Linked DNA regions of Homo sapiens: all the other regions are linked to region 3. The links are contacts of gene promoters, found by promoter capture Hi-C in blood cells and fetal thymus (Javierre and others, 2016). All regions are on one chromosome and are shown on one strand. The core of a region is centred on a gene start or on the middle of the fragment in contact, and the rest is flanking DNA. Distances in the headings are between cores, read along the strand shown.

Evidence for each region. Contacts are between HindIII fragments. The CHiCAGO score rates a contact against its expected background, and 5 or more counts as called.
Region 1: a fragment that was not itself captured here is called in contact with the fragment with the promoter of DDX1 in region 3 in 2 of 17 cell types (endothelial precursors and M2 macrophages); the score reaches 18.9 in endothelial precursors.
Region 2: a contact is called between a fragment that was not itself captured here and the fragment with the promoter of DDX1 in region 3, in 1 of 17 cell types (endothelial precursors). The highest score is 6.6, in endothelial precursors.
Region 4: a contact is called between a fragment that was not itself captured here and the fragment with the promoter of DDX1 in region 3, in 1 of 17 cell types (total B cells). The highest score is 5.2, in total B cells.
Region 5: a fragment that was not itself captured here is called in contact with the fragment with the promoter of DDX1 in region 3 in 1 of 17 cell types (total B cells); the score reaches 8.5 in total B cells.

Annotation. Positions count from the first base shown.
Region 1 is chr2:13,037,461-13,041,308 of GRCh38, forward strand. All of the region lies in intron 1 of LOC105373436 (a long non-coding RNA gene), which reads left to right. Among named protein-coding and RNA genes, the nearest start is that of MIR3125, 300 kb to the left of the region's middle. The HindIII fragment of the contact is 188 bases long and covers 2,085-2,272 here.
Region 2 is chr2:13,059,998-13,063,790 of GRCh38, forward strand. All of the region lies in intron 1 of LOC105373436 (a long non-coding RNA gene), which reads left to right. Among named protein-coding and RNA genes, the nearest start is that of MIR3125, 320 kb to the left of the region's middle. The HindIII fragment of the contact is 3,982 bases long and covers 1-3,667 here.
Region 3 is chr2:15,590,604-15,594,265 of GRCh38, forward strand. DDX1 (DEAD-box helicase 1) reads left to right here and starts at 1,265. Exons shown (of 26, transcript NM_004939.3): 1 at 1,265-1,346. The coding sequence starts at 1,331. LOC124905975 (a long non-coding RNA gene) reads right to left here and starts at 1,166. Exons shown (of 2, transcript XR_007086224.1): 1 at 857-1,166; 2 at 1-729. RefSeq lists an enhancer at 1,304-1,363. The HindIII fragment of the contact is 5,190 bases long and covers 1-3,662 here.
Region 4 is chr2:17,773,164-17,777,106 of GRCh38, forward strand. GEN1 (GEN1 Holliday junction 5' flap endonuclease) reads left to right here. Exons shown (of 14, transcript NM_001130009.3): 10 at 56-136; 11 at 1,108-1,238. All of the region lies in intron 3 of LOC105373449 (a long non-coding RNA gene), which reads right to left. Among named protein-coding and RNA genes, the nearest start is that of GEN1, 21 kb to the left of the region's middle. The HindIII fragment of the contact is 163 bases long and covers 1,199-1,361 here.
Region 5 is chr2:17,810,825-17,814,442 of GRCh38, forward strand. No RefSeq gene overlaps it. Among named protein-coding and RNA genes, the nearest start is that of MSGN1, 3.8 kb to the right of the region's middle. The HindIII fragment of the contact is 2,090 bases long and covers 1,179-3,268 here.

The sequences.
Region 1 (3,848 bases), core at 929-3,428, 2.6 Mb before region 3:
TCAAAAAATATATAAATAATAATAATAATGAAATAAAATAAAAAATAAATTATTTAAACTCAACCTAAGTAAACCAATTCTATAACATTTTCTGAACTATTAACTGTGCTGGCTTTGGAATGCGGAGGTCACAGAGCGTAGCAAAACCGCAGCTCCAGATTTCAGAGCATTTCCAAGTTATCCTTCTCTTTGGAGTGAGGACAATGATAATCGGGAAATGTTGAAGAAATAAGAAGAAGACAAGAAAACCACTGAATTCTCAAAGGGCTAACACAGAATTCTGAAAGGGCTAAAAAGTTTCATTTAAGAAGTAGCATTTGTATTAAATGTTACCAAAACATGTCTTATGTATTTTTGCTTAATGGATATTTGACGTCTATGCATTATGCAAATGTGGTCATGTGTGAACAGGAAGGAAATTTTCTTATTTGTGTCACAAGGAAATTCAGCCAATATTCACTTTAGTTATTTCAGAGCAACACTTGCAATCCTTCTAAATATGAAACACCAAATAATGTATGTATTTATTCCCATACTCTGAGGGAGACTGAATATGAATAATTGGGTCTCACATTGGAATAATTGAATTCTAAATTAAAAGAACTTTACAGTAATAAATGAGTCTAATAAAATAGTTATTTTGAACCATCTATTTTTAAAGAATGCTTGGGGTATTGCTGATATGTGTAACAGGAAGAACTTTTGAAATTTTGCCCAAGGCATAGGATTGTAATGATTTTTCAAGGACCTCAATATCCATAAACATTAATGATCCTATAGAACAGCCTGGACTCCTTAGTCCAGTCAAAAGATAATAGACTTTGTCTTCATAAGTATGAGTTTAAATGCATACACCTTCACTTACTAGCCTACTACTTTGGGCAATGTATTAACCTCTATGAGTCTCGTTCTTAAATTGTAAAAGGCACATAATATACATTGAAGGATTAATATGAAGACTATAAATAATATGTTACCACCATGTTCCTGACCCTGCCAGTGTGTATCAATATCACATTTTCTTTAATACTCTAATGATACTAGTTCTATCTTGCCAAATTAACAGAAACTCTAGTCTCTTTCCCAAAGCGCAATGCCCTCAATATTTCTGAGAATCCCTAAGTTTGCCTATACTTGTCCATACGTCAGACATTCTTATTGTTTCTTTGTTGCCACTTGTCAAAAATGCAGACTCTGATAAAGTCTTGCAATAGGACCCAGTTGCCAGATCGTCTTTTACCAGAAAAATTCATTATTTAGTCTCAGGTCAAATCCAGCTGCTAGTTCACCAGATTTTGTGGGATGCCAGTGCCTCTGATCCTAGTGGTGAAGCTCTAGCAGCCTGCAATGATCTGGCTGTTACTATGCTATTCACTTCCACTGGTGCCTCTTACAAATCTGATTATTTACTCAGGTTCTATCAGTTCTCAAGCTATAAGAATTCTATCACGACTAAACTGCCGAGGCCCTAAGTGGATTTTTAAAAATTTGATGTGTTCCCTCAATTACTAATATACTTTGCATCTATAGATTTGCCTATTCTGGATGTTTCCTATTAGCAGAATCCTACAATACATGGTTCTCTGTAACCAGTTTCCTTACTTCGGAATTTGGATAAACGTTTAAATGTTTCATCTAAGAAACCACTGCTTAATCCAAGGTCACAAATATCCCAATGTTTTCTTCTGAGAGTTTATAGTTTTATCTCTTCTATTAAATTCTTTAATGCATTTTAAGTTAGTTTTTACATGTTGTATGAAGTAGGTATCAACTTCATTCTTTTGTATGTGGATACCCAGTTATCCCAGCACCATGTGCTGGAAATACTACTTTCTCCTTGTTTCCCTGTGGAATATGCTGTCAAAAATCCATTGATTGTAAATGGGAAGGGTGAATTATGGACCCTCAGTGCTTTGCCGTTGATCTGCATATTGATCCTGATGCCACTGCTACACTGTCTTTATTATTGTAGCTTTTTGGTACGTTTTGAAATAGCAAAGTGGAATCCTCCTACTTTGTCCTTCTGTTTCAACATTGTTTTGGCTACTCTTGGTCACTTGAATTTATATATGAATTTTAGAATAAGCTTGTCAATTTCTGCAAAAGTTCAGCTAAGATTTTGATAGGAATTACATTGAGCATATAGATGAATTTGAGGAGTATTGCTGTCTTAAAATTATTAAGTCATCTCATCCATGAATATAGGATATATTTCCGTTTATTTAGTTTTCCTTTAATGACTTCAAACAATATTTTTAGTTTTCAGAGTATAAGCTTTGCACTTCCTTTGTTAAACTTATTCTCTTGGATGCTATTTTAAAGAAATTGTTGGAGCAGCCAAGACGGCCGAATAGAAATGGCTTTGCTCTGCAGCTCCCACCAAAAAGGATAAAAACAGTGAGTGAATTCTGCATCTTCAGTTGAGGTACCAAGGATCGCTCATGAGAACCAAGTGGTTATGGCGACCCACGGAGAGCGAGGAAAAGGAGGGTGGAGCAAGGGCTCACCTGGGAGCTGCACGAGGCAAAGGGAGCTCCTTCTTCCAGCCAAGGGAGGCGGTGAGGGATTTTGCTCCTTCTCCCTGAAAACCCCACTTTTCCCACAGATCTGGCTGGAGGAGATCCCTCCTGATTTGCAACCTGCAAATCAGGCGGTCCCCTTGTGAGCCCACACCAACCAGGATTCTTGGCTCCCAAGCATAGAGCAGTGCAGACTCTTGGCGGCTGCTCAGGTAGGCGGCGGCTGGAGCAGGCACTGAGACCCCGAGTTTCCCAGGGGGCAGGGACAGCCACCATCACTGCGCCTCTAGTCGGCTGTTTTCCCCTGCCGCCAGCGCCAGCGCGGTTTGTACTGGGAGCAATTCCCCACAGTGCAGCACAGCGGCTGGGGCAGTTCGTGGCTGGACTGTTTCCTTAAGCAGGACCCTGATCCACTCCCCCTCACTGGGTGGGACCTCCCTGCAGGAAATTCAGCATCCCCAGGCAGGCATTTATGAACAAAACTCTGATATCCCTGAGAGGAGCCCCTAGGAGGAGGTGCAGCTGCAGTATCATGAATCTTAGTCTTATCTGCCTGCTTACTGGCTCTGGAGAGTCAGGGCAGCCCAGGCAATGGCGCAGCACACCTGCTCCAACTAGGGGCAGTCAGATTGCTTATTTAAGCAGGTCCCTGATCCCTGTCCTCCTGACTGGGTGAGACCTCCCAACAGGAGTCTCCAGACACCTCATACAGGAGCGTTCCAGCTGGCATCAAGTCTGTGCCCCTCCGGGACAGAGCTCCCAGAAGAAGGAGCAGGCTGCCATCTTTGCTGTTCTGCAGCCTCTATTAGTTATATTTTCAGGAGCAGGAGGGACGCAGGAAAACAGGGTCTGGAGTGGACCCTCAGCAAACTGCAGCAGCCCTATGGAAAAGGGCATTGACCGCTAAAAGAAAAACAAAGAGAAAGCAACAACAACAACAACAACATCAATGAAAAAGACCCCACAAAAACTCCATCCAAAGGTCAGCAGCCTCAAAGATCAAAGGTAGATGAACCCAAGAAGATGAGAAAGAATCAGTGTAAAAGTGCTGAAAACTCTAAAAGGCAGAGTGCCTATTCTCCAAATGATCACAACACATCTCCCTCAATGGCACAGAACTGGGCTGAGGTTGAGATGGTTGAACTGACAAAAGTAGGCTTCATAAGATGGGTAATAATGTACTTCACTTAGCTAAAGGAGTACGTTCTAACTTATTGCAAAGAAGCTAAGAACCATGATAAAACATCAGAGGAGTTGTTAACCAGAATAACCAGTTGAGAGAGGAACATAGATAACCTGAAGGAGCTGAAAAACACAACGTGAGAACTT
Region 2 (3,793 bases), core at 427-2,926, 2.5 Mb before region 3:
TGGGGGCCTTCTTGCACCTCTAACCTGCACATCCTTGGGGGTAGCCTGAGGCCTTACTTTCAAAGCAGGCTTTCTTCTTCACCTTTACTGTATTTAGCTTTGATGGCTAGTTCTTATTTTCCATAATGTCTCATTTCCCTCACACAGGGAAGAAATTTTAGAACTTTGAGAAATAATAGTTGCTTATATTTATCAATAATCATTAAACAAGTTATTATCTAGCAAGTATCTATAGTGTCTATCTAATACCTAGCAAGGTACTAGGCACAGGAGGCAGTGCAACTCCGATGATTATATTAGTAGAGACTGGGTTTGGATTCTGTCTCCACCCCTTCTGGCTGTAAGACTTTAGACAAGTTATGTGAACAGTAATCATTCCTCAGAAAGGTTCATTTTAGTAACTAAGATATAGGATTATAGGGGTTTAAAGGACTAATGCACATGAAGCCTGTTATTTTGAAAACACCTAAAAAAGGTGTTTGACAAACACAAAACATTAGCATTAATTATTATGCTTTTAATGAATGAGGTATAGAAACAATAAGACACATAGGCATCAAAAATAAAGAATTTATCATCTGATGAATCCTACTTTAAGTGTTTTGGAAACAATTATTGTGTAACTTCCAAAGATTATTCCAAGGATTATAAGAGATTTTATTAATAACACAAAGAGAAGCGGCAATGAAACATTTCTTCTTTGTCTTCTTCATTTATTCATAGACACACAATTATATTTTTTAAATCGAATTTTGGCAAATATGGTTGGATATATTTGATACTCAAGATAAGAAATTGTCCATTGGCTTCTATTAATTCCAGTAGGAATAATATGATATTTAATCTACTTCTATGTGTATATGTCTATGTGGATGTATGAAAGAGAGAGAAAGGAGAAGAAAGTTCTGAAGTACTTTTAAAATTTTTTCATTCAATCTTTGTCCTCTGTAGGGACATGGATGAAGCTGGAAACCATCATTCTCAGCAAACTATCACAAGGACAAAAAACCAAACACTGCATGTTCTCACTCACAGGTGGGAACTGAACAAAGAGAACACATGGACACAGGAAGGGGAACATCACACACTGGGGCCTGTTGTGTAGTGGGGGTAGGGGTGAGGGATAGCATTAGGAGATATACCTAATGTAAATGATGAGTTAATGGGTGCAGTACATCAACACGGCACATGTATGCATATGTAACAAACCTGCATGTTGTGCACATGTACCCTAAAACTTAAAGTATAGTAAAAAAAAGAAAATAAGTAAATCTTCATACTTCCTGCTCAGAGAGAATTAACTTAGACTCTGCTGTTAATCTCTCTCTTCAGCTCATTAATTTTATACCTGCTGGGATCATAAACATTTTTAGAAATTAAATCTGAGTGGTATTAGTCTCAAGAAAGAAGATTTTCCGTTTTAAAAAATCCAGACTCTGAGATGATATCTATGGCTATCAAGTTTCTCTGTATGAAAGATTCACCTGTAAAATTGAATAGTTACTGCAGAAGGTGCCAATACATTGCCTGCAGGGATGTTGAGCAGTCCCCATGAGAGGGGCTGGTTGCCATGGCTTTGCTCTGAGTATTATTATTTTAGAAAACTCTTCCAAGGCCCTGGGTCTTGCTTTTGTGATGATGGGTTATTAGAAACTGACTTGTCAGTAAACCCAGTTCAAATCTATCTTCAGGACTGCTTCAGATGGACTTACCCGAGGATACTGACCTATGGACAAGAATGCCAATTTATATATTTGCACTAAAAAATAAGAACTGTCCAGAATACGAGGAGGCTGACATTCCCACGACGTGTGTCGTCCTTAAGTATTGGCAAACTGTCCTGGAACACTAAATAATCAGGAGAGGATTTGATTTTGGAGTGAGAATGAGGGAACTGTCTCCTTACTAGTAGGGTAGATTCCAGGAAGTGGATTTACTATGTCAAATGGAATTAACCTGGCTAAAAGTGACAATAAAAGGGCCCATCTTTCATTTCTTTTGGTAAAATTGAGATTGTAATTTATCTTATAATTGTTTTGAAAACTACAAATATATATCATTACACGTCTATCAGAATAGCTGAAATAAAAATATGACAAAACAAAATGCTGCTGAGAAGGTGGAGAAACTAAAGCCTTACACAGAGCTGGCGGAGAGCACAGTCACTGGAAAACAGTTTGGCAGTGTTTTAGAGGACTAAATATGTAATTATCATATGTCCCACTATTGCACTTTCGGGTATTTATCCCAGAGGAATTCCAAGTTATGCTCACATGAAAGCCTATACACAAATGTTCAAAGTAGCTTTATCATAACAACCAAACACTAGAGATGACCCCTATGCACATTGCATGGTGCAGCCACGCAATGGAATACTACTCAGAAATGAAAACAAATTGTACTGTTGATACATGCGGCAACTTTTATGAGTCTCTAGAAAATTAAGCTGAGTGAAAAAGTCACTCCCAGAAAATGATATACTGTATGATTCCATTTATATAATATCCTTGAAATGACAAAATTATAGAGATACCTGTGGTGATAGAACTACTCTGCATTTTTTTCTTAATTTTTAAAACTGATACGTAATGATTGTACATTTTTCTGGAGTACACGTGATATTATGATACAAGCATACAATGTGTAGCAATCAGGATAAATGGGATATTCGTCACCTCAAATATGTATCATTTCTTTGTCTTGGGAACATTCCAAATTTTTCTACTAGCTACTATGAAATATAAATTATTATTAATTATAGTTATCCTACTGTGATATCAAACACTAGAACTTATTCTTTCAATTTAACTGCATTTTTGTACCCTCTCTTCATTGCCCCACTTGCCTCATACCCTTCACAGTCTTTGGTAGCCACCATTTTACTGCCTACCTCCATGAGATTTACTTTTTGAGCTCCTACAAGTGAGTGATAACATGTGATATTTGTCATTCTGTGACTGGTGTATTTCACTTAAATAATGACTCCAATTGCAACTATGTTGCTGAAAATGACAGAATTTCATTCTTTCTATGGCTGAATAATTTTCTATTGTGTATGTACTATATTTTCGTTATCCATGCATTCATTTGTGGACACCTAGGTTGAATTTTGGCTATTGTGAATAGTGCTGTTATAGACATGGAAGTATAAGTATAGCTTCTATATGCCAATTTCCTTTATTTTTAATATATACTCAGCAGTGGGATTGCTGGATCATATGGCAGTTTTATTTTTAGTTTTTTGAGGAACCTCATACTGCTTTCCATAGTGGCTATACTAATTTACATTCCCATCATCAGTGTATGAGAGTTAATCTTTACTCACATTCTCACCAGCTTCTGATTTTTTTTGTCTTTTTAGTAATAGCCATTCCTAATGGGATGAGATGATATCTCATTGTGGTTTTGATTTGCCCTTTCCTGATGATTAGTGAGGTCGAGTATCTTTCATACACCTGTTGATTATTTGTATGTCTTCTTTTGAGAAATGTTTTTTCAGATCCTTTGCCGATTTTTTAATTGGATTATTTGTTTTTTTGTGTTTGTTTGTTTGAGTTTCTTCTCTATTGTGGTTATTAATCCCTTCTCAGATGGATAATTTGGAAATATTTTTTTCCATTCTGTAAGTTATCTCTTTACTCTGATGATGTTATCTTTGCTGTGCAGAAGCTTTTTAGCCTAATGTAATCCAATTTGTCTATCTTTGCTTTTGTTGTCTGTACTTTAGATGTCTTACACAAAAAGTCATAGTCTAGAGCAGTGTCCTGAACCATTTCTTCAATGTTTTCTTCTA
Region 3 (3,662 bases), core at 15-2,514:
ATTTTTTATTTTTTTGAGACAGACTCTCCCTCTGTCGCCCAGGCTAGAGTGTAGTGGCACGATCTCAGCTCACTGCAGCTTTCGCCTCCCAGGTTCATGTGATTCTCATGCCTCAGCCTCCGGAGTAGCTGCAACCCTATTCTTTTTTCTTTTTTTTTTTTTTTGAGACGGAGTCTCGCTCGGTCACCCAGGCTGGAGTGCAGTGGCGCGATCTCGGCTCACTGCAACCTTCGCCTCCTGGGTTCAAGCGATTCTCCTGCCTCAGCCTCCCGAGTAGCTGGGACTACAGGCATGCACCACCACACCCGGCTTCTTCTGTGTGTGTGTGTGTGTGTGTGTGTGTGTGTATTTTTTGTAGAGAAGGGGTTTCACCGTGTTAGCTAGGATGGTCTCGACCTCCTGACTTCGTGATCCGCCTGCCTCGGCCTCCCAAAGTGCTGGGATTACAGGCGTGAGCCCCCGCGCCCGGCCGCTGCAACCCTATTCTATCTTGCCTGAGGGTTCCACTTTTCTCCATGACACTCTGGGGCAGGCTACAGATAGCACAGCACGCGCCCTCGCATTGCGCAGATGTGGCTCAGATCCCACGCTGCCATTCGGTAGATATGTGTCTTTAGATAAGTGACTTAACTTTCCCGAATTTTAGAGTCCTCATCTAAAGATTCTAATACCTTCCTGACAGAGTGAGTGTCTGGTTGGGAGGATTCCTCATTTACTTTCCCCATCTCTCTGCAAAGAGAAAGGAGTTAAAATTGCATGGAAGTCAAACCCGAAATTATAAAAGCGACATCAAACATGGGTGAAGGGAGGGAGACCTAAATCATTACTTAGTTTAAAAAAAAAATGTAACAAATACCTACTGGCTGCCAGGCACTCACTGGCATTGGTGCTCAGGGCAATGAATCCAGTCCATCTCTCCGGGTCATTCACACACCAAGGCCCTGCTCACCTTTGGAAAGCTGGGGGACTGAGTGGGGAGGGCACGGTGTGGTGTCAGCCTGAGCCCACTGGATGACCCTAATCACCAAACATCTGCTTCCTTCTCTGTAGCTGTGACCCTGATACCGCGTGGTGTGCTCCGAACACATGGTGCCCAGAACGAAGGCGGCGTCCAGAAGCCCTAGGTCCCAGAGGTCCGCTCAGCGGCAGGCGCATAAGGCGGGGCCGGCGCGGGCCTTTCCTTCCATCGGAACCGTTCTCCCGGGGCTGAGTCCCTGCCCGGACTCCGAACGCCGAAGACCAGGGGCCGGAAGCGCGCGCCGCCACTGCCACGCCGTGTCAGTCGGGAGGGAGGGAGCGAGCAGGCGAAGCCGCGGAGGACGGGGTGAAGATGGCGGCCTTCTCCGGTGCGTTTGTGGAAACTCTGGGGGTGGTGGGGCGGCTTGTTGCACGCCTCAGCCCTGGGGCCGCCCGCGGAGAGCTAAAGGGGCGGGAGCGGACAGGGGTCAGGGAGACAGAAGGGCGCTGTCCGCTGCAGTCCCTGATGGACCCGCGTTGCGGGATCAGGGGCGGCCGCGGCTCGGGTTCGGAGGACGATTCTTCCCAGGAGCGGGCCGGAACGTCCCTCCCCCTGCCCTTTCCCTTCTACCAGTCTCCACTTGGCTTTCCTGCCAGTGCACCTTCGGCTGCAAAATCTAGGCGGCGGCGTTGCTCTGGCGGCTCCCAGACGCCTGGGCCTCCTGCCTCTTAACGTGGCAGTGACCCTTTGGGAACCCTTTTCTGCCCGCGGCTCATCTGGGCTTGGCCAGGCAGAGAGGCGAGACGGCGTGGGGAGGAGTCATTGGGGAAAAATGACGATCCTGCCTCTGTCCAGTTTTTTCAGGCCCTTCCAAAACGTCCCAGGCATAAACCTGATCTTTATTTGTTCTTAAACGTTGTTATATCAACATTAATGTTCAGTGTTGAAGCTAAAGGGAAAGCATTTTCATTAACGTACGCACCAGTCCAACATAAGTTTGGAAAATTCATATTTATTTGCCGTCTGCTACCCTCCTTTATTCCAAATATGATTTGATATGGCTTATCGAACCCTACAGTTGATATTTTCGCCTCTTGCTTTATCATCCTCCTGTTAGGCATCCAGTTTTAGGAAGCTGTAATCAGCCTTAAATGCGCTAAACGTGATACATTTATGTAGCACTTATGTAACGTTTATTGCTATATAAATGTATCACGTTAGGCCTAATGTCCTTTAATGTTATTAACTTTTTAAGATGACTTCAGATGTAGTATTTTATATTTTTTAGTTTTCTTCTGTAAGAATATTAGGAATTCCATATCTCCAGTCATGTAAGATATTTTTTTTCTTTTTTGGGGGGGAGAATGGGGGGGTGGGGGGATGTAGTCTCCTTCTGTCGCCCCAGCTGGAGTGCAATGGTGTGATCTTGGCTCACTGCAGCCTCCACCTCCCAGGTTCAAGCAATTCTCCTGCCTCAGCCTCCTGAGTAGCTGGGATTACAGGCGCCTACCACCATGCCCTGCTCATTTTTGTATTATTAGTAGAGACGGGGGTTTCACCATGTTGGCCAGGCTGGTCTCGAACTCCTGACCTCAGGTGATCCGCTCACCTCGGCTTCCCAAAGTGCAACAGTCATGTAAGATTTCTGACTGTTTCAGTTACATCTTCTAATAGGATTCAATTGGAAACTGCTCAGAGTTGTTGCTGTTTTTCTTTTCCCAACATTCTCCTAAAACGATTTTAGAGCCAAGGTCTGTAGGATAGTTCTAGGTAGTCATTTTATAGGTTCACATCTTTGGGAGTCATACACAAATTTCATGAATGTTAGAGGTAAAGGACTGGAAAAAGTCTGTGATATGAAATAAGACAAAACTGGAATTTCACGAATGTTTCTAATTTTTCCTTAACTGTTAAAAGTATTATACTTAAGGTCCGCTTTCAAAGAAAACTTGCAGGGAACATGACCAGAATGGTACAAGAGATTGTCTGGAATTTACTGAAAATGATATGTTGTTTCTTGTATAACAATTTTGCAAAGAGCTTCAGCTTGCAGTATTCCGTATGCAGTAAGAACACACCACTCCTTTGTTTCAAGCAGTTTGCATTTTAGGAGAGAGAACATAGACTGTAATACAGGTTAATTCTTAGGAAGGTCTGCCTGGATATTCAACTTTAGATCTTCATTAGTTTATCTGTGGCTTTTTTTTTTCCTGAGATTAAGAGCTAGGAAAGTCGCCAGGTGCAGTGGCTTATGCCTGTAATCCCAGCACTTTGGGAGTCCAAGGTGGGCAGATCACGAGGTCAGGAGATTGAGACCATCCTGGCTAACACAGTGAAACCCCGTCTCTACTAAAAATATGAAAAAAAATTAGCGGGCGTGGTGGCATGCGCCTGTAGCCCCAGCTCCTCGGGAGGCTGAGGCAGGAGAATTGCTTGAATCTGGGAGACGGAGTTTGCAGTGAGTGGAGATCATGCCCCTACACTCCAGCCTGGGTGACAGAGTGAGACTGTCTCAAAAAAAAACAAAAGAAAAGAAAAAAAAGAAAAAGAGTTAGGAGAGCCTTCTTTGAAAATGATGATCCTTCTCATCTGATGCAAAGAAAAAGCTACATAATTTTATGAAGAATATTTTCAGTTTGTATGTTTGCTTTATGCCTTTTCACAATGGCAAGAAATACAGAATTTCAGAATTGGTTATTTCTGG
Region 4 (3,943 bases), core at 30-2,529, 2.2 Mb after region 3:
TAGAAACTTTCTTAAAAGTTTAAATCTCAGTTTCTATTTTCTTTTTTCTTGCTAGGTTATTCAAGAATTCCTTTTAAACAAGGATAAATTGGTGAAGGTTATCAGGTACCAAAGACCTGATTTGTTATTGTTTCAGGTATCTGAAAATAAATTCTTCTTTACTGTATGAAGTTATATGCTGGAAAGATAGGAACAGATATTCACTCTGATTGGTCTTAGAGGAGGTTTAAAATTAAAACAGGCAGCTCTTATATTTTTTCAGCATTTATTTCTACTCTCTCATTTGCCATACAGTGGCCATCTTTGCACACTATAAGACAAAGTATAGTTATGCTGTTTTAGAAGATGCCTTAATTAGCATATGTGGATATATTGCATCCATGGATATTTTGGGGGAAGAGGGTTTAATAACAAGAGAATGTTAAGATCAAGTATATAATTATGGAAGGTAGTATCATTTACAAAAACATTGATATCTGAAATTAATGACCTAAATTTAAATTTGGACCGTATTCCACCTACTGTGTGACCCTGGATGTGTGTTATTCTCAAAACAGAAATAATATTACTTATCTCATAAAGTCACCATGAGGATTAAATGAGATTATTTATATTAACTCCTAATATAGTGGCTAGGGACACGGAGTGGCTCAATAAATTGCAACAACTGGGTACTTACAAGTACCAGCTGTAAGTAATGACAGCCACATTAAGAACGACAGCCACATTAATAATGACAGCCAACATTTGTTAGACATTTAAATTTGCTGTTATGTTTAATGCATTGCATGTAATCTCAATCTTTGTAATCTGTGAAGTGGGTTGTAATATTTTCACATTACAGATGGTAAAACTGAGGCTAAGAGAGTTTAAGTAAGTTACCCAACATCTAAGAAATATCATCCTGGCGTTCAAACCGAGAGCCTTCACTCTTAATCATTATGCAATAATGATTCTTCCTTAGGAGGCTCATTGTTTCTAGAATATTCTCATTGATACTACTTTAACTTACGTTAATTCTAAAGGAAAAAATATTAATATCACCTAGGAGTGCTATTTGTCTCCAAGAGATAACAAAATCTTGTTTTATTTTTATTATATTTATAGAGATTTACTCTTGAAAAAATGGAGTGGCCCAATCACTATGCATGTGAGAAATTGCTGGTACTTTTGACCCATTATGACATGATAGAAAGAAAGCTTGGTAGCAGAAACTCTAATCAACTACAGCCAATTCGGTAATGTAAAGAACTGTATGGTGAAGGTGGTGTTTTTACTTGAGTATTTTATAATTAAAATATTCCTAATATCTTTAAGCTCGTTTTTGTAAAGGTGGAGGAAAGGCCTCCTGGAATATTAAAAGCTTATTCAGGGCTTATAATCAGAACAACATAGTAAGTCATGCTTTATCATACTTTTCTACTTCAAACACATAGTAATAATAGATTATAAAAAGAAACAAGCATAAAAGGATATAGCCAGGCTTTATAAGACAACTATTTCAGTGGACCAGAAAAGGAACAAACGTGTTAAGGGAATGTGGGAACTAAAACTGGTTTTGCAGAGCCTTAAATCTAGAAGCAGCCGTATCATCCAGGAGGTAAATCGCTTCAGAGAAAAAAAAAAAAATGGGGACCAAAAGTGCAAGATGTTGATGGAGTCAGGCTTATTTCTTGAAACCCAGTAGCTAGGGTGGAATTTCTCTGTTCCTATCAGGAGATTAGAGGCTGGGGTAGATAATAAAAAACTAACCAAATGCTGCCTGAAGCCCAGAAAGCCCACTGGAAATTACTCAAAGAGACTAGAGAGATAGAAGTGAAGACAGATAAAATATAAAAGAATTGAAGAAGAAAGCTTAACATATAAAGAAATATAATATTTTTAAAATCAACAATTGCGTCATGAATTCACTTCGGATTAAATTAAGTTTTAAAACAGTCTGACAGGTTTTATGCAAGGGGTGGGTGTGGTTGGCCTTTCAGAATGCTAGAATCCTCAAAAAGATGAAGACATATGTCTGTAAGCAACAGAAGGCAAAATTATAAAAATGTGTGTAAATGGATGGATATAAAAAGTGAACTATTAGCTTAAAAATAGTTGTTGAAATAAAAAGCAATCAAGGGGTCTCTAGGCTAAACTTGGTCCAAAAAAATTAGTGATTTGGAAGACAAATCAAGTCACACAGAAATGATCTCAAAGACTCTCATATAAAAAATGCTTAAGAGTAGTTTTGGATTAGTTCCTAGAAGCTAATAAAAGAAAAGGTTGAAAAGTAATTTTTGAAGAGATGATGTCTGAGAGTTTTCCAAAATTTAAGACAGATAGTTATACTACAAATTATAGTCGCAATACATGAAATACCCAAGGCATATTGTAGACATCAACGATAAAAGGAATATTTTAAAAAGTACCAAACCAATCAGGCAACAATCATCAATGGATGTTAAAACCATTAGATGAAAGATTGCTGCAGAGAAAGGATAGTCACAGTCTCAAGTACCGCTCTACAGATTAATTACAAAGGAAAAATGGTATCTTCAAAAGTGGAGAAATCCAGTGGACATCAGTTTAACTCAGTGATTAATTACCAATAAAAGAACAATAGACTGCTTTCATATGCTTTCTAATACGTTAAACTGAGAAAGATACTACATTATCATATAATATTTTTGCCAAAAAAGCTTGAGCTAGGTGGGGCGTGGTGGCTCGCACCTGTAATCCCAGCAGCATTTTGGGAGACTGAGGCCGGTGGATCGACTGAGCTCAGGAGTTCAAGACCCATCTCTTCCAAAAATACAAAAAATTAGCCAGGCGTGGTGGAGAGCACCTGTGATCCCAGCTACTTGGAAGGCTGAGTTGGGAGGATTGCTTGAGCCTGGGAGGTGGAGGTTGCAGTGAGCTGAGTTCATACCACTGCACTCCAAACTTGGTGACAGAGTGAGACCCTGTCTCAAAAAAAAAAAAAAAAAAAAAGGAAAGTTTAATCTGTATCTAATCATGAGGAAACAATCTAATGAATCCAAGTGAAAAACGTTCTGTGGAGCTATTATCCTGGACTCTTCAAAAATAAAAAATATCTAGGTAGTTTTCTGGATTAAAATAAAGAGACAACACAATTCAAGAAAAATGATCCTGATTGAATTCTGAATTGTTTTTAAGTCATAAAGGACCTTTTTTTTAGGACAATTGGGGAAATTTGAATATGGTCTATATTGTATCATTGTTAAACTTCCAGAGTGTGAAAGTTTTTTGTGGCAATGTAGGAAAATACTCTACATAGACAGGCTGCAGTATTTAGGGGTGATGTGCCATGAGACATGTTTGCAACTAACTTGCAAATGGAGAAAGCAAATGTGATAAAATGTTAACAATTGATGAATCTCAGTAAAAGTATGTGAGTATTCATTGTACTATTTTTGCAACTTTTATAAAGGTTTGAAATTTTTCAGAATAAACAGTTTGCTGGGAAGTATAAAAGAAAAAAGATCAGCTATCTGATAGCACACATCTTTCATAACCGTAATAGATGCCAGAAGATGCTGGAGTGATGTTTCAAAGTACCGAGTAAAAATAATTTACAACCTTGAAATCATTAAAACATTATTCATAGGAAAAGCGTTTTTAAACATATGAAGAGTAAGAGAGTTTACCACTCAAACCTTCCTTAAAAGTGCAGTTAAAGGGCTGGGCGTGGTGGTTTATGCCTGGATTAGCACTTTGGGAGACCAAAGCAGGCGGATCAGTTGAGGCCAGGGATTCTAGACCATTCTGGCCAACATAGCGAAAACACCTGTCTACTACAAATACAAAACATTAGCTGGACCTGGTGGTACATGCCTGTAATCCCATTTACTTGGGATGCTGAGGCACGAGAATCTCTTGAACCCAGGAGGCAGAGGTTACAGTGAGCTGAGATGGTGCCACTGCACTCCAGCCTGAGCAA
Region 5 (3,618 bases), core at 974-3,473, 2.2 Mb after region 3:
CTACATGGTTATAATAAGATAAAGACCAACTTTTAGCCAAGCATTATCACTGTTTTAAAATTATATGTAGACAATACCTCCCTTTATTGCCTACACCAGAGGCTGAAGGTTCTCACCACCCATCCAGGGTACGCCACTACTCTGGTTCCATTAAAAAAGAAAGATTACATTTGAATGGAGGGATTTTGGTTTCTAAGCAGGGGGGACTTGAGGCCAAGAGAAAGTGGGAGTGATATATTTGTGGCTACTTGTATTGTGGCTCTAACTTCTCTTGACTCAAGGAACCAAGAATGTACCCAGCACAAGATTTTTGTTTGTTTGTTTTTTTGAGATGGAGTCTTGCTCTGTCACCAGGCTGGAGTACAGTGGCACGATCTCGGCTCACTGCAATCTCCGCCTCCCAGGTTCAAGTGATTCTCCTGCCTCAGCCTCCCAAGTAGCTGGGATTACAGGCACATGCCACCACACCGAGCTAATTTTGTATTTTTAGTAGAGACGGGGTTTCACCATGTTGGCCAGGATGCTCTCGATCTCCTGACCTCGTGATCCACCCACCTTGGCCTCCCAAAGTGCTGGGATTACAAGCATGAGCTACAGCACCCTGCCCCAGCACAAGATTAATAATTACAGCAACATTAGTTACCACACTTACAGTTTACAATGTGTAAACCTGCTAAAAGCGTGTACTCTATAAGGCAAGTATTAGTATTTCAATTGCACAGATGAAGATGAAGCTGAAGCTGAGAAAGATTGATTCATGTGTCCCAGGTCACAATAACAGAGGAGGAAATGTAAGATGTGACAGGTTTGACCTGGCTCCTATTCCTGCACTCTTGCCACTACCCCCATGTTCTATCTGTTCACCGATGTTCAAACAGCCACCAAAGTACTAAAAATGCTAACATTGCAGAGGAGGCACATCACAGGGGCTCCCAGGGCCACTGCTTGAGGAGGGTGCACCCTGCACAAAGGTGCTGGGCTGAAGAGGCAAGCAGGGCTGAAATAAGCCTTAGCTTGGTTGTTTTGTAATTTGCACAAAGGAGCCGTATGGGCTGGTAATGGCATGGAACCACCGGTGGCCACAGCTTAAGGAATTCCATCAGCCTCTTGATTTCTGTTTTCTGTCTATCCTTTGAGCACTATTTGCCAATTTCCTGGAAGTGGCTCTGCCTCAAGAAAGCTTCCTGGCTCTTAAATGTAGAGTTTACAATCCTCTGAGGCCAGTGTGAAATGCCCAGTTGTCCTGACTGTTGTCAGGAACATGACCAGCATTCCCTCAGAAGCTCATCATTCTGAAAATTAGACACAGACCACTTATTAATATGTATGGCAAATCTGGGATCCTCCTTAGTGAGTGTAGCTACAATAAAAAGGTCAATATGAAGGCCTGGGATTTGAGAGATGAAACAACCTGTACCTTTGTCTTATACTTTGGAAAATAGGACCTGAACATTTTTCAAGGTCTCTTGAGAGTGGGCCTCAAGGTTGGGGGCCTCTTTTCAATCTGTCACAGTCATAGTCACAATAGCTTATAAATATCTGTTGCTTGAATGACATTTGAAGTAAAATATTTATCCCAATAAATCAGTAATGTGGGAAATACGTAGTCTGCCTGATGTGAATACTTTGCAATTAGTCCTATTAGTTTCAAAGGAAGAAAAAGGACAGATATGGGAGGCAGGCAACTTTGGCTTTTCTCTTTCCATCTCTGCCACAGCCTTTGGGTATGACATTGAGCAAGTCATTCACCATGTGTAGAATGCAGATTTAAAGAAATGATGGACTCAATGATATCCCCAAATGCCTTCATGCTGGTACAGTGCTCTTTTAACCAAGCATATTCACATGGTAGTAACATGTTTCATGGCATTTTGTAGCTAGACGGGAGTTTAATGATCCCTTGGTACACCCTCCTCATGTAATGAATGCTCTTGATAAAGAAGACAGAGCAGGCTGGGCACGATGGCTTACTATAATCCCAGCACTTTGGGAGGTGGAGGCGGGTGGATTACTTGAGGCCATGAGTTTAGGACCAGCCTGGCCAACGTGGTGAAACCTTGTCTCTACTAAAAATACAAAAGTTAGCTGAGCATGGTGGCACACACCTGTAGTTCCAGCTACTTGGGAGACTGAGGCATGAGAACCACTTGAATCTAGGAGGCAGAGGTTGCAGTGAGCCTAGATGGTGCCACTTCACTACAGCCTGGGCCCTGCGTCAAAAAAAAAAAAAAAAAAGAAGAAGAAGAAGAACACAGGAAAAGTGTTATTACCTCCTTTTACGCACTAAAATACTTAGGCTGTGAGGGGTGAGTCACTTGCTCTAAAGGAGGCAAGTTCTGTCTCATCCTTCCACAACACCATGCTCTCAGCCAGATTTTACTGGGTCCAGTGTAAATTTTGCCTGTCTGGTCTAGCCTTATCCAGTGTTCTGTTGCTTTGTTCAAACTGGAGACAGAAAAGCACCAGCTAGTGTCTGCCTAACTATAGCCTTCGAATGTCTGTACTGCAGTGTTACATTGTCCTTGACTTTTATTTCCCTCAGATTGAGCACAGAATGCTTCTCAGATAGATGCAAGTCTGGTTCTGCTTTATTTCTTACCAAAGAGAGAGTGCACATCAAGAAACATGAAAACCAGGCAGCTTCCTTTCTCCAAGAATAGTTTCAGGGGCCAAGAAGGCTGGGAAACTGGGGTCAGGAGCAGAAGAGTCACAGCTCGGTAAGTCATTCTGTTGCTGGTGGGTTTGACAACACTCAGTCAATAACAATAATGACAAGAACTACATTTATTAAGTGTCTACAGTGCACTAAGGATTTGACAGATATTGTCTCATTTAGGAAACGAAATTTCTAAAAATGGAAGTTCAAGAAATTAGCAGTTTTAGAAAGAAGCTGTGGGAAAGGGAAAAAAGAGTTATGGAGTCTGAGAGCAGAAGCAGTGTTACGTGGAAAACTGTGAAGTTAGAACACAAGGATCGAGAGTCTGCCATGGCAGCGGCCCCCACAGCTGCCTTGTGTCCCCTGGGAGTTCCCTCTCTGAGTCACACTCAGGCCATCTGCCTCTACCACAACCCATGAAAGAGTGAAAATAGATTTTAAAAAAAGAAAGTGAGCTTTGGGGTCTGACAAGGAATCTTTGCTCTACCACTCCCTAGTGACTCTACCACTTCCTACCCGGGAAATCTTAACTGAGTTTCTTCACATCTGAGAGTCTCAGTATTTTCATCCATAACATGTTGGTCTTTTTGTTTTTTGTCTTTTTTAAAAAGAAGCTTAATCATATAAGTTCCTTGAACTCACACAAATCAGCAAGAAACAAACAAATAATTTCATCAAAAAGTGGGCACATGACATGAATAGACATTTCTCAAAAGAAGATATCCAAATGTCCAACAAACATGAAAAAATGCTCAACCTCACTAGTTATCAGGGAAATGCAAATTGAAACCACAACGAGATACTGCCTTGCCCCAGCCAGAATAGGTTTGTAATAAACAAAGTAAAAAAAAAAACCCAAATGTTGGCATGGATGTGGTAAAAAGGGAACACTTACATACTGCTGGTGGGAATGAAAAGTAGCACAACCTCTATGGAAAACAGGATGGGGATTTCTTAAAGAA